Linked DNA regions of Homo sapiens: region 2 is linked to region 1. Evidence: promoter capture Hi-C in 16 types of primary human blood cells and fetal thymus (Javierre and others, 2016). All regions are on one chromosome and are shown on one strand. Each heading gives the region's core, a stretch centred on a gene start or on the middle of the fragment in contact. The rest is flanking DNA. Distances are from core to core; before and after follow the strand shown. Region 1 holds the start of PRADC1 (protease associated domain containing 1). Region 2 holds the start of PTPN18 (protein tyrosine phosphatase non-receptor type 18).

The links. Contacts are between HindIII fragments. The CHiCAGO score rates a contact against its expected background, and 5 or more counts as called.
Region 2: the fragment with the promoter of PTPN18 here is called in contact with the fragment with the promoter of PRADC1 in region 1 in 1 of 17 cell types (total B cells); the score reaches 6.6 in total B cells.

What each region holds. Positions count from the first base shown.
Region 1 is chr2:73,228,509-73,234,704 of GRCh38, forward strand. It overlaps PRADC1 (protease associated domain containing 1), which reads right to left and starts at 4,731. Exons shown (of 5, transcript NM_032319.3): 1 at 4,586-4,731; 2 at 1,605-1,705; 3 at 953-1,062; 4 at 287-454; 5 at 1-66. The coding sequence starts at 4,652. It overlaps CCT7 (chaperonin containing TCP1 subunit 7), which reads left to right and starts at 5,800. Exons shown (of 12, transcript NM_006429.4): 1 at 5,800-5,876. The coding sequence starts at 5,871. RefSeq lists a silencer at 4,778-4,987 and enhancers at 5,275-5,806, 5,448-5,497, 5,618-5,687. The HindIII fragment of the contact is 3,259 bases long and covers 2,512-5,770 here.
Region 2 is chr2:130,351,881-130,358,148 of GRCh38, forward strand. PTPN18 (protein tyrosine phosphatase non-receptor type 18) reads left to right here and starts at 4,176. Exons shown (of 15, transcript NM_014369.4): 1 at 4,176-4,320. The coding sequence starts at 4,228. RefSeq lists silencers at 3,756-4,425, 4,566-4,615. The HindIII fragment of the contact is 15,291 bases long and covers 2,441-6,268 here.

The DNA.
Region 1 (6,196 bases), core at 3,481-5,980:
TTGACTGGGATGGAAATGATGGCCCATGGCAGCCCATGCTGTTCCAGAGAGCGGCGGATCATGTAGCTGGGAGGGCATGAAGAGAGGTGGTGACGGTCACTTTCTTGGTACCCCATCATGCCCCACTGTCCCCATCAATCTGGGAGTTCCAAAGCCCGAGATCTTTTTTTGCCCTCTAACTGAAGCACCCCAAGTTGAGGCCTGCAAGAAGGGACTGGTGATTACCCCTGACCCAGTCATGGCGCCCAGCCTGGTGCTGATAAAGCCAGAGGCAAGGAGCCCTCACCCGTCTCGGCCGAGCAGGAAGAGGGCGGGGATGTCAGCTGTGCGCTGGGTACTGTCCTGGATCATCTCCACGTAGAAGCTGTCATTGTCAACTGCGTTGTCAGAGATGATCACCGCCCGCCCGCCGTGCTCCTGGACCACCCGAGTCTTGGAGAGGAAGGAGCAGCCCCTGGAAGAGGTGGTGATAAGACCAAAGGAAAGACAGGTCCTAGCTCCCCCTTCCCCAGACCATCACCCTGGGAGTATAGAAGGCAGACTATGAAGAATCTGTTATAAAGGCTCATAAGTAAATAGCTAAAAGCATGGATAATTTAAATACATTTCTTTTTCCTTTTTCTTTTTTTTTGGAGACTGGGTTTTGCTCTGTTGCCCAGGCTGGAGTGCAGTGACGTGATCTCGGCTCACTGCAGCCTTAACATGCGGTCAAGCAATCCTCTCACCTCAGCCTCGAGTAGCTGGGACCACAGGTGTGCACCACCATGCCCAGCTAATTTTTGTATTTTTTGTACAGACAGGGTTTCTCCATGTTGCCCAGGCTAGACATTTCTTAAAGACGCTTAAAAAGATGAAATTTTCAAAAACAGCTCTTTCAAAGCACTACTACCAATAATCTCAGAATCTGCCGTATGCCTGCCCACTCCTCGTGTCCTGCCTGCCCACTCCTTACCCCCTCTCCACCAGAGCAATCTGGTCCTGGATGAAGAAACCGTTGCTGAGTTCCCCGCAGGCCTCTGGAGGTTCAGCGGGGACAAGGTGAATCTGCTCATACCTTGTGTGCTGAAAAACATTTAACATTTGGACAGGTGAGAGTGTAATGAGACACACCTGCTTTAGGACTGGGCTGACAATCCCATCTTATTGGCACCTTATAAAGTGTGAAGGAAACATGGAGTGGTTTCTGTATCGCCAGACACTTAAACATTTTTACTTAATTCTCGCAAAGGCCTATCTGGTTGTCCTACACCACCCTACCCTTCTATGAGATAGGCAGGGGACTTGGTTGTAGATCCAGAGAGAGGAAGTGATGTGCCTTAAGTCACATAGTTCACAGGTAGAGCTGGCAGAGGAAGCTGGTGCTCTTGGCTTTTCACTTCATGTCCCCTAAAAAGACAACTTGTCCCTCCATGGTGCCTAGGTTTATATTATACTCAGGGGAGTAGCTGGAAGAGCTTCCTTTCTGTGCTGCAGCTCATGGAAGGCAGAGCTGATTCTGCTCCCTTCCCTGTCCCAGCACTCAGGTGGGATGAGAGGGTCACTGCAGCTCAGTGAGGGGAAGGGGGAGGTTGAGGATCAGAGATCAGGGGCCTCCCTTAACTTACAAAGATACCACCAAAGTCCTTGGCAGGTGTGGCTGTGAAGATGTATCGAATGTCCCCAGGACTCAGCACTTGAAAGTACAAATAATCATGGATACGGAAGCCTGAAGGATAAAGAGTACAGGTAAGAAGCCTCCCAGGAACAAGCTGGTTCAGGTTCAGATCCCAGACCCTGTGTCTTCAGCTGGGCTGGCTATAGTCTGGGCTCAGGGTCCTGGCTTCAGCCAACGGGGTCCACTAGTGGCAGGGTTGGGGGCTAGATGGCCTCTGTCCTGGGGAGGATAGAGTTGATGCAGAGTCATTAACCCCAGAGGCTTATATCAGCTGCTGCTGCTGCTTACGCAGTAAGCCAGGAAAACTGAGAGCTCCAGGGTTAGTATTTTTGCTCTGAAGACCTGGGAGTTTCAGGGTAGAGATGTAGTGGCCTGCGTACAAAGCAATTCTCACTAAAATTTAAAAGTTGACTTTCTGGTCCCACTGCCATCCCCTTAAGTCTAGTCACTATCATCTCTTGTCCTGACAGCTCAGCTTCTTACCTGGCCTCCCTGCCTCCATTCTTGCTCCCCAAGCAACAACCAGAAATCGAAAACATCTTAGCAATTATGAGCACATCACCATACCTAGGGTTTCAATAACTGCCCTTTGCATTTAAAATTTAAACTCTTTTTAAACTGTGGCCTACAAGACCCTGTTTGCTGTGGCCCCTGGCCACTCTTCCAACCTCATCTCCTCCATCCTGTGTTCAAGCTACACTGGCCTTTCAGTGTCTTCACTTCTCTGGGTCTTTCTGCAGGCTGTTCCCTGAGCCTGGAAGGCCCCCTACTCCCACGCCACCCTACTTCCACCCCTTTACCTGACTCTTTCCTAGTCATCCTTCAGGTCACACCTTAAATGTCACTTCCTCAGAGAAAGCTTCTGCCTCATGATTGCCCTCCCATACCCATTCAAATGTACTTTTTAATAAATGGGGACTTTCAACATAATTTGTAATTATACAGCTTTCATAACTTTTCTTTTTTTCTTTTTTTGAGACGGAGTCTCGCTCTGTCACCCAGGCTGGAGTGCAGTGTTGCGATCTAGGCTCGCTGCAAGCTCCGCCTCCCGGGTTCACGCCATTCTCCTGCCTCAGCCTCCGGAGTAGCTGGGACTACAGGCGCCCGCCACCACGCCCGGAGAATTTTTTGTATTTTTAGTAGAGACGGGGTTTCACCGTGTTAGCCAGGATGGTCTCTATCTCCTGACCTCGTGATCCACCCGCCTGGGCCTTCCAAAGTGCTGGGATTACAGGCGTGAGCCACCGCGCCCGGCCTCTTTTTCTTTTTTTTGAGACAGGGTCTCACTTTATCACCCAGGCTGGAGTGCAGTGGCGCCATCTCGCCTCACAGCAACCTCCACCTCCCAGGCTCAAGCGATTCTCATGCCTCAGCCTCCCAAATAGCTGGGACTACAGGCGTGCGCCACCATGCCTGGCTAATTTTTTTTTGTATTTTTTAGTAGAGAGGGTTTCGCCATGTTGACCAGGCTGATTTTTTTTTTTCATTTTTTAAATAGGAATGGGGTCTCGCCTTGTTGCCAGGGCTTGTGATCCTCCCACCTTGGCTTACCAAAGTCCTGGGATTACAGGCGTGAGCCACCGCACCTGCCCTGGATTCATAATTTTTAAATATCTGCCTCTTCCACTTTGTAACTTCATTCAGTGAAGAGTCACCAGTGTCTTGCACAGTGGCTACAATATAGGGATAGCCCTATAAACTTTCCTGAATGGGTGAACAACTATATCTAGCTCCACAGCACCGATGAAGAGAATTTCCAGACCACTAGATTTTTCTGGGGCATGGGATCTTCTCCTCAGCACCAAAGTTTAATGTTGTACCTGGACTTGAGTCCCTGGTTTCCTTAACCCAGAGAGACTGCGGAATGTTGAAAGATAAAAACTGCTGTCATGGGCGGGCGCGGTGGCTCACGCCTGTAATCCCAGCACTTTGGGAGGCCGAGGCGGGCAGATCACGAGGTCAGGAGATCGAGACCATCCTGGCTAACACGGTGAAACCCCCGTCTCTACTAAAAATACAAAAAAATTAGCCGGGCGTGGTGGTGGGCGCCTGTAGTCCCAGCTACTTGGGAGGCTGAGGCAGGAGAATGGCGTGAACCCGGGAGGCGGAGCTTGCAGTGAGCCGAGATCGGGCCACTGCACTGCAACCTGGGCGACAGAGCAAGACTCCGTCTCAAAAAAAAAAAAAAGAAAAAAAGAAAACTGCTGTCACAAGTCTGTTAGTCTATCAACAAACTACCAAGTCACTACTGTGTACCAAGGATGGCATTAAGGCTTTAGCTGTCTTTGTTTACTGCCCAAATCACAGCCATCAGTTAGAGCTCCCATGGCTTGGCACTGGGCTATACAGTCCTGGGAGTGGGGACTCCCTCTCGGATACAAATACACCCCCAGAAAGCCTTCCTGGACTAGCGTCAAACTCACTCCCTCCTCCCCAACCCTTGCTTGCCTTTGTGTGTGCTTATTTGTGTAAGTTGTGGGTATACGTATGTGCTCACTTATGTGCATAGATGTATACATTTATGTGCTTGTGTAGGTGTAAACGGTTTGTGCGTGTGTGCCCACGTGTAGGAATGTGTGCTCCTGTGTACATGTGAATGCTCACATACATATCTCCAGCCTGTAGTATCCTTCCTTAGCTGTCCCTTCTGGTCGCACCCTAAGTCACCTGGGTCGGCGCTAGTGGGCGGGGAGGGGCGAGTGGGGAGATCTGCTTTGTCGTGGGAAGGTGAGGAGTCAGAGCTTCAGCCTCAGGCTGCGCCCACTTTATGTCCTTGGACCACCACCCACTTATTCCGGCCGCCCGCTCCCAGACCTGTCCTGCTCTGAACTCGCAGGGTCCCCAAGGTGACCCTTGGCCCCCAACCCGAGACGCGCGCAAGCTGGACGGCCAGCCCCGCCCTGCAACGCAGTCCCACCCGTTGCCGCTCACCGTGGGCCGCGACGCACGCGGGGAGCCAGAGCACGAGACAACACCAGCCCGCGGCGCCGGGGACCATCTCCAGGGCCGGGCCCGGCCCGGCGCCGCGTTTCCTCTCGCCGCCCCGCCGCGCGTCGCTCGCAGGACTTCAGCCTGACAGCTGCTCCGGCCTCCCGCCCACATACCCGCTCTCGCCGCGGGCTGGACGACGGGAACGAGGCTCAAGGCTGATTGGCTCTGACGCCTGCTCATGTAGCCACACTTTCCGCCTCTGCGCCTTAGCCTACTTCCTATTGGTCGAGAGAAGTGGAGCCGGGGGCTGATTGGCTTAAACTCTTAACAGCTACAACCGGCCTTCGCCTCAGCCCCGCCCCAGCATACTCTCCGGGTCCTCGCTGGCGGTGGGCGGGCCAGGGAGGACAAGCACTGGAGGTGTGCCCGTAGCCGGACTTGCTTCAGCTGTCGATAGTCGAGGCCGTTAACCCTTGCGGTCTCGGTCCTGTCCACTCCAAGGCCGCCTCGATTGACGACGATTAGCCTTCTCCCAGCTGCGCTTCCCTCCTCCCAGCTGCGCTTCCCTCCTCCCCACGCCTTCACGGGAAGGCACTCGTCTTGCGCCAGGGGGTCTTCCGCCCAGTGCCACCAACGCTTGCGCGCTCACCGTGGATAGGCGCTGGGGCCGCGGCCTGGCGCACGCCATCCACGAGGAGCCTCTGGCCAGTGCAAAGCCAGAAAACGGGCATTGGGGGCAGCTTCCCACGCTCGTCCCGTTGACACTGACTATGTAACTGTGACACTGGACACCTTGACCTCTCAGCCTCCTTTCTGTCATCAGTAAAATGGCCTTAATAGGACCAACGCAATAGGGTTGTGAGGATTAAATGAGATCGCTCACGTAAAGTGCTTTGGCACCAGCCTATCCCACACTTTGCGTCCCACACTTTTGCCTTTATTGCATTCCTTGGTCTGGCGTCCGGGGATGGAGGAGGGTGGAATTAAGTTAGTAGGTGATGCGGGCCGAGCAAAGACCCTCCGTGCTCTAAGAAGCACGACCGAAATGCGGCGACCCCTCTTTAATGAACGCCCCTCACTAGAGAGTCCCCGAAGCCCAGCCTCAGGTCCTTCTAGCCGCACCGAGTCGGTGGTAACGAACCATAGAGTAGCGGAAGTGGTCCGTTCTCTTCCTCTCCCGGCCCAAGCTTCTGGGTATTTCTATTGCGCGAGGCATTGTGGGTTGCTGGGCGGCCCGGTCTCGGAGAAGAGGGGAGAGTGGCGGGCCGCTGAATAAGCTTCCAAAATGATGGTGAGTGGCGTCTCGCGCATCCGTCGCCATCAGCTGCCATCTGGCCGGTGGCCGGCGCCGCTCGGCCTGGGCTTGCTCTGTAGGACCCTCTTTTGCTTGCCGCCTCTGTCCTCGCCCAGATCCCCAGCTTAGGGGCGACCCCAGCCAGCCGCGGCCTGGCTCGGCCCGAGCACGGCGCTGGAGCCGTTGGCGAGGGCTGCGTGGGGCTTTAGAGGAGTCTCTGGGCTGGCCGGTTGGGGACTACAAGTCCCAGGGTGCTTCGGGCCCGCGAACCCACGTCGGGGACCTCTTTTTTAGCCCCGCATGATCGGGACTTGCGT
Region 2 (6,268 bases), core at 2,926-5,425, about 57 Mb after region 1:
TGTAGAAACTGCAGGCTGAGGAGGCAGCAGCCTGACCCGGCCTGTCAGTCATGGAAGTCCCAGAGTGCTGCCAGCGTTGCTGTTAGAGCACTTGTCTGCCCGAGTTTATTTCCTCCAGGGGCACATCGGGGGCCTGCTCTGGGCCATGCAGATGCCCAGGCTCTGCCCTGGAGTAGTGGGGGAAAAGTTGGTATGAGCATTTTAAAGATGGGGAAGAGGGCTTTCCCCTCTATTCCTAGTGGTTTCCCCTCCTTTCTGAAGCAGAATTGCAGGACAGCTCCCGAGGGCAGCAGGTCAGCCTCCACAAAGAGCTGGGGGTTGTGGGGTTTGGTGGTAGCGCTGAGAAGGGGTAGGGTGGCTTTCTCTTTGGCCTCTTTCTCTTTGGCTTTCTCTTTCCACCGCGCTGAGCTGCTGACCCTTTCCCATGGAGCGATCAGGAGGAGTCTTTGATTCAGAACACTGAAACCTGGCACGCCTGAGGAGAGTTAGAGGAGACAGGAACAAAAGCTCTCCCAGAGGACTTAGAGCTCTCAGGCATCGGACGGGAGGGGGACACAGCCACATGCTTCCTCTTGCACTGAAGAGGGTTGCCTTTTTCCTGTTTGCTAAATGCCAGACTTGTGGATGGACCAACAGGACAACTTGCCCAGCTTGAAGGTTTTTAACAGAATGAAGCAATGGGAAAATGTTTTCAAATTTATGCCCCCCCTTCCACTTTTGTTTTAACTTAGAGGAGGGAGTAAGGAGGTGGGCGTGGCAATATCAGAAAGGGAAACTAGCAGTGTAATAATAATATTAATAGTACCAAGTGTATACTGCAAGCCAAGTGCTGTTCTATCTAAATGCTTTATATACAATGATTTCCTTAAATTCTCACAATAAAGCAACAAGAAGAGACACAGTCCTACAGAGGAGGAAATTGAGACATAGAAATTAAATGACTTGCCCAAGGTCATACTGAGAAAGTCATGGTGCCAGAATTCTAACTCAAACATTTTGGTTCCAGTCTTCTGCCCTTTTTTTATTTTTATTTATTGATTTTTTTTTTTTGAGGCGGAGTCTTGCTCTGTCGCCCAGGCTGGAGTGCAGTGGCACAATCTCGGCTCACTGCAAGCTCCGCCTCCCGGGTTCAAGCCATTCTCCTGCCTCAGCCTCCCGAGCAGCTGGGACTACAGGTGCCCGCCACCACGCCCGGCTAATTTTTTGTACTTTTAATAGAGAACGGGGTTTCACTGTGTTAGCCAGGATGGTCTCTGCCCTTTTTTAACTAAGCAAAAAAGGAAGCTGGAGAAGAACTGTACCCTGGAGATGCCAGCAGTCTCCAAGGAGCTCCCCGCAAGCATCCCAGAGGAAGGGGTGTCTGCCAGGGGTCTCCACTGTAGTTTCTCTTTTCCCCTTTGCAGGCTCAGAGCAGGCTGAACTCACAGCCTTGTGCACCTGTCCCTGTGCATCTTCCTCTACCTTGTCCTCTTGGCTCTGTTGAGCGGCCCATGTAGCCACACTGACTGGTGGGCAGGTGACAGACTGGCACATGGCACGTGGGCTTTGGTACACTTGGGGTCTCTGTAGCAGTGCCAGCAGCTCCCACTGTGCAAGACTGCTGCTGGCAGCGTGAACAGGAGGGCCACCAGCAGCAGTGAGTCTCATTGCAAGAACACAGCTGGCAGTCCTCCGGGAGAGAAAAGCCGGGGTGGGCCAGGGCCTCTGGAAGATGTGGGGTCTTCCCATCCCCCACACCTAGCCTGAGCTGAACAGAGGGCAAGCTAAGAGTTTGGATGTTTGGAGAGACATGAGGAACGGTCAGGTGTCAGGAGGACAGGTGGGTTAAACAACAAGGTGGGGCTTGGAGTGAGGGTGAACACGAGGACAGAAAGACACTCAAGGCAGCTGGAAGTACAAATGGCAGACTACAGCCTCAGCCACTTAATGTTCACAGGCCACAAGGCAGCATCTGGCTAGTCACTCAGATCCTCTAATAGACAAACCACCAAACACACACACACACACACACACACACACACACCCTGGCTGGACAGACTTCCAGATGGACAGAATCCCAGGGAAACACCCAGCTGGACAAACAGACAGATTACTGACAGATGGGTAGACCCTCAGCCAGACATCCAAATAGGCCTGTGGCCAGAGAGACACCTGGGCCCCCCAGCCAGGCAAAGGTCAGAATCCCTCAAGGACAGGTGCCCTCCCCAAAATGGACAGAGACATTACCCCAGAGGAGAGAACACCCCACCCACCTAGTCAACCAGACCTTCAGCTGGACGACATGCCCTCCACCAGTCAGACAGACCTCAGCCTATGAGGACAGGCCCTCAACAGGATCCCTGCTGCTGGACAGAGATCCTCTAGCCCATAAAGACTGCCCTGAATAACCATGTGTGCTCAGGGGCTCACATTTTCCCAGAAAATGTCTTTATTTTCTGAAAGCTTACTGATGCTTCTGTATTCTACCTCCCTGGATCTCCATGGCCATCCACAAACCCTCAATGATTATACTGAGAGTCACTATCATGCACTGAGCAGAGCTCTCAATGACTTCCCAGACTCTTCGGACCCTTCAATTACTAACACTCCAAATCCCAATGGCCCCACAATTACTTTCACTTCTTGTCCCAAGTATCCACTGGCCTCCCAATGACTGTCATTAATATCTACTGACACCCCCCCCCCCATGAACATCCAAGGGACCCCGACTGGCTTCCAATGAATTCCCTATCACCACCATCCTAAACAATTACCTCCCTGAGAATGCTCAAAGATGAAACTGATAAATGATGAACATGAATCTCACAGTGACCCCTGCGGACCCCACGATAAATCAAACAGCCCTAGCTGCTGATCCCCACAGAGCCACTTTGATCGCTCCATCACTTCAGCCAAGGTCAGCAAACGACAGCCTGTAGGCCACACACACACACTAGAATAATTCATGACACATGAACATTACATGAAATTCTGATTTCTTTGTCCATAAATGGTTTCTTTGGGACACAGCCACACTATATTGTCTGCTTTCATGCTGCCACAGCTGAGTTAAGCAGCTGGGGCAGCGATAGCAAAGCCAAAACCACTTCCTACCGGGACCTTTAAGAAAGTGTGCCCTTAAATACTCTGATAGCCCCTAGTGAATTAAATTGACCACCTGACATCATGCCCCTGTTGACCCTTCAGAGACTCAGGCACACATCCAGGCCCCAATGCTACCTTTCAACCCCTCAACGACCTCAAACTGGTGTCCACTGACGCCCCTTCCAGTGACACCCCTCTTAATTCTTCCGACCTCGGCGAGAAGGGGGCTAACCTAGGCCTGTCCTTGAAGAGACCCAGGTGCCAGTCCATTCTCTCCAGCCTCCCCTCGGTGATCCCGGAAGCTGGAACGGCGGCTCTCCTCTGACCTCTGCACACTTTCTGAAGATGGGAGTGTCAGGGCAGGCAAAAAAGAGAAGCTCTTCGTTCCCCAGAACCCACTTCCAGTGCCTCAGTTCTGTTTCCCAGCAGGCTTGTGCAGGTCGAGATGCTCACACAGGACTGACCCTGGTGCCCCAGCGCATCCGGGAAAAAGGAACCACAAATTCCTCGGGAAATACACAGAGAAGATCCCGCTGCCACTTGGCCTTTCCCACGGCGTGGCTGCCCCTCCCCGGCCTCCCTTGGGCCCGGCTGGAGCGCACAGCGCGGGACGCCCCCGACCCGGGGTCCTCTGGCACGAGGGGCAGCCTGATCTCGGCGACCGTCTCCACCCAAGGCTGCTGCCCGCCCCAGCTCGGACTCCGCGCGGCCTGGCTCCCAGGGGACGGGCGGGAGGGCCCGGCGAGACCGCTCGGCCGTCCACCCAGAGCCGGCACCCGGAGGTCGGCCCCTGGGCGCGGATCCCGATCTGAGGGCGGGTCCCAAGCGGCAGGGAGCGAACCTGGGACCGTGCCACCCCCCCACCAGTGGGCGCGGCAGCCGAAAAAAAGGGGAAGCGCCGGCGCTGGACTCTGCTCAGGGCAGCCCGCGAGGACCTAGGGCTCCGGCCACAGCGGCCCGAGCGCCCGGGGTGGGGCTACGCGGGCTCAGAACACGGTGGCTGGGGCGCCCTGCCCGCCGCTGCGCGCTTCCATTGGCTGCCGAGGCAAGGGCGGGGACTCAGTCACCGGCCTCCGCCTCCCGCGGCGTCCACACTCGCCGCGCGCGCGGCGGCCGGGCTGGACCTTGCTGGCCCGCGGCGCCATGAGCCGCAGCCTGGACTCGGCGCGGAGCTTCCTGGAGCGGCTGGAAGCGCGGGGCGGCCGGGAGGGGGCAGTCCTCGCCGGCGAGTTCAGCGTGAGTGGCACACGGGGTCCGCGAGCGGCGCGCCCCGGCCCTGGCCCTGCGTACGCCTGTCCTCCGCGCACGGCGGGCTCTGCCTTTCTGTCTCGGTGTCCCCGGTGTCTCCCCGCCTCGGGGGGTCTCTCCGTGTTTCTCTCCCCAGCACTTCTCTGTCGCTCTTGCTGTCTCCGTCTTCACTCTCTGCCCCCCGGCCCCGGAGCGCGACGTCCACGGCCAGGCCGGGACGGACCGTGCACACCCTCGTTCCCGGTGTCCTCGTCGCGCTCCCGGAACAACCTGGCTGCGGGCGGGACAGGTGGGGCGGGCGCCGCAGGGGAGGGCGGGCGGCCCTGCTGCGCTGGACAGCCCCGGCCCCGCCGCTTCTGGCGACCTGACTGTCCCCTGTGACCACAGGAAGGAAGGGGCTGCAGCAGGGCGAAGAGGAACACGGAGGCTGTGGCGTGGTGAGGGTGTGAACGCCGGGCTCGAATCCGCGTCCGGGCCCGAATCCGCTTCCCGTCCCGAATCCGCGTCCCGGCCATCCGCGTGTGGTCCAGGCGGTCTACCTGGCCCCTCTGACCTCGGCTTCTCCCTTGGTGAAATGGGGACATGAATGACCAAACTGGTCTAAGGATTAAATGATGTGGGTGAAAAGCACTTAGTACATATTGGGCGCACACTTCGTAGGGGCGTTCGTCACTGCCTATAAAGATTCTAAACGTGGGCCAGGTGCGGTGGCTCACACCTGTAATCCCAGCACTTTGGGAGGCCGAGGTGGGAGGATCGCTTGAGCTCAGGAGTTCGAGACCAGCCTGGGCAACACAGCGAAACCCCGTCTCTACTAAAAATACAAAAATCAACTGGGCATGGGCGCATGCCTGTAATCCCAGCTACTAGGGAGCAGAGACAGGGGACTCGCTTGAACCTGGGAGGCAGAGGTTGCAGTGAGCTGAGATGGTTCCACTGCACAGCTGAGATGGTGCCACTGCACTCCAGCCTGGGCCACAGAGTGAGATCCCATCTCAAACAAAACAAAACCAAACAAAAAATCTAAACGTTACAATACAGGTAGTGCAAGCCCAGCATTAGGAAGGCTCACGCAGAATGCTAGGCACTGTACATTACAGTTGATGACGTGTTTAAAGTGTAATCGCTTATGTACCAGACATAGAAACATACCATACAAACGCATAAACTGATATATGGTGACATGTATCAAGTTTAGAAATATGACAAATATATAAAAGTATTATAAATGACCGTTTATACAATAAACATTGCATAACTGCATAAAACAATACAACAAATGAATATAACAAAGATTATAATTTATAAAATGACCAAAGTTATTTGATAAATTCATAAGTAGATATAAAATATGTAACAGATGGCCGGGCACGGTGGCTCACGCCTATAATCCCAGCACTTTGGGAGGCCGAGGCGGGCGGATCACGAGGTCAGGAGATCCACACCATCCTGGCTAACACGGTGAAACCCCGTCTCTACTAAACACACAAAAAATTAGCTGGGCGTGGTGGCGGGCGCCTGTAGTCCCAGCTACTCGGGTGGCTGAGGCAGGAGAATGGCGTGAACCCGGGAGGCGGAGCTTGCAGTGAGCCGAGATCGCGCCACTGCAGTCCAGCCTGGGCAACAGAGCGAGACTCCATCTCAAAAAAAAAAAAAAAAAAAGTAACAGATAATTATAAACCTAAGTAATTTACACACATGTAGAAACATTGTATATAAGAAACTAAGAAATGCATAATAAATGTAAAATATATAATTATACAATATAAGAATGTGTGTAACAAATGTAAACATAATACCCATGTGATATATGACATCATGCGACTGGGTGGGTTCTGAACCGTGTACAGTGCGGAGGGCCTCACATGCGGAAGGCTGGGTGGCGAGGGCACCCCTGCTCCCCAAGCCTGCCTCCCGCATGTGCAGGAATCACTGC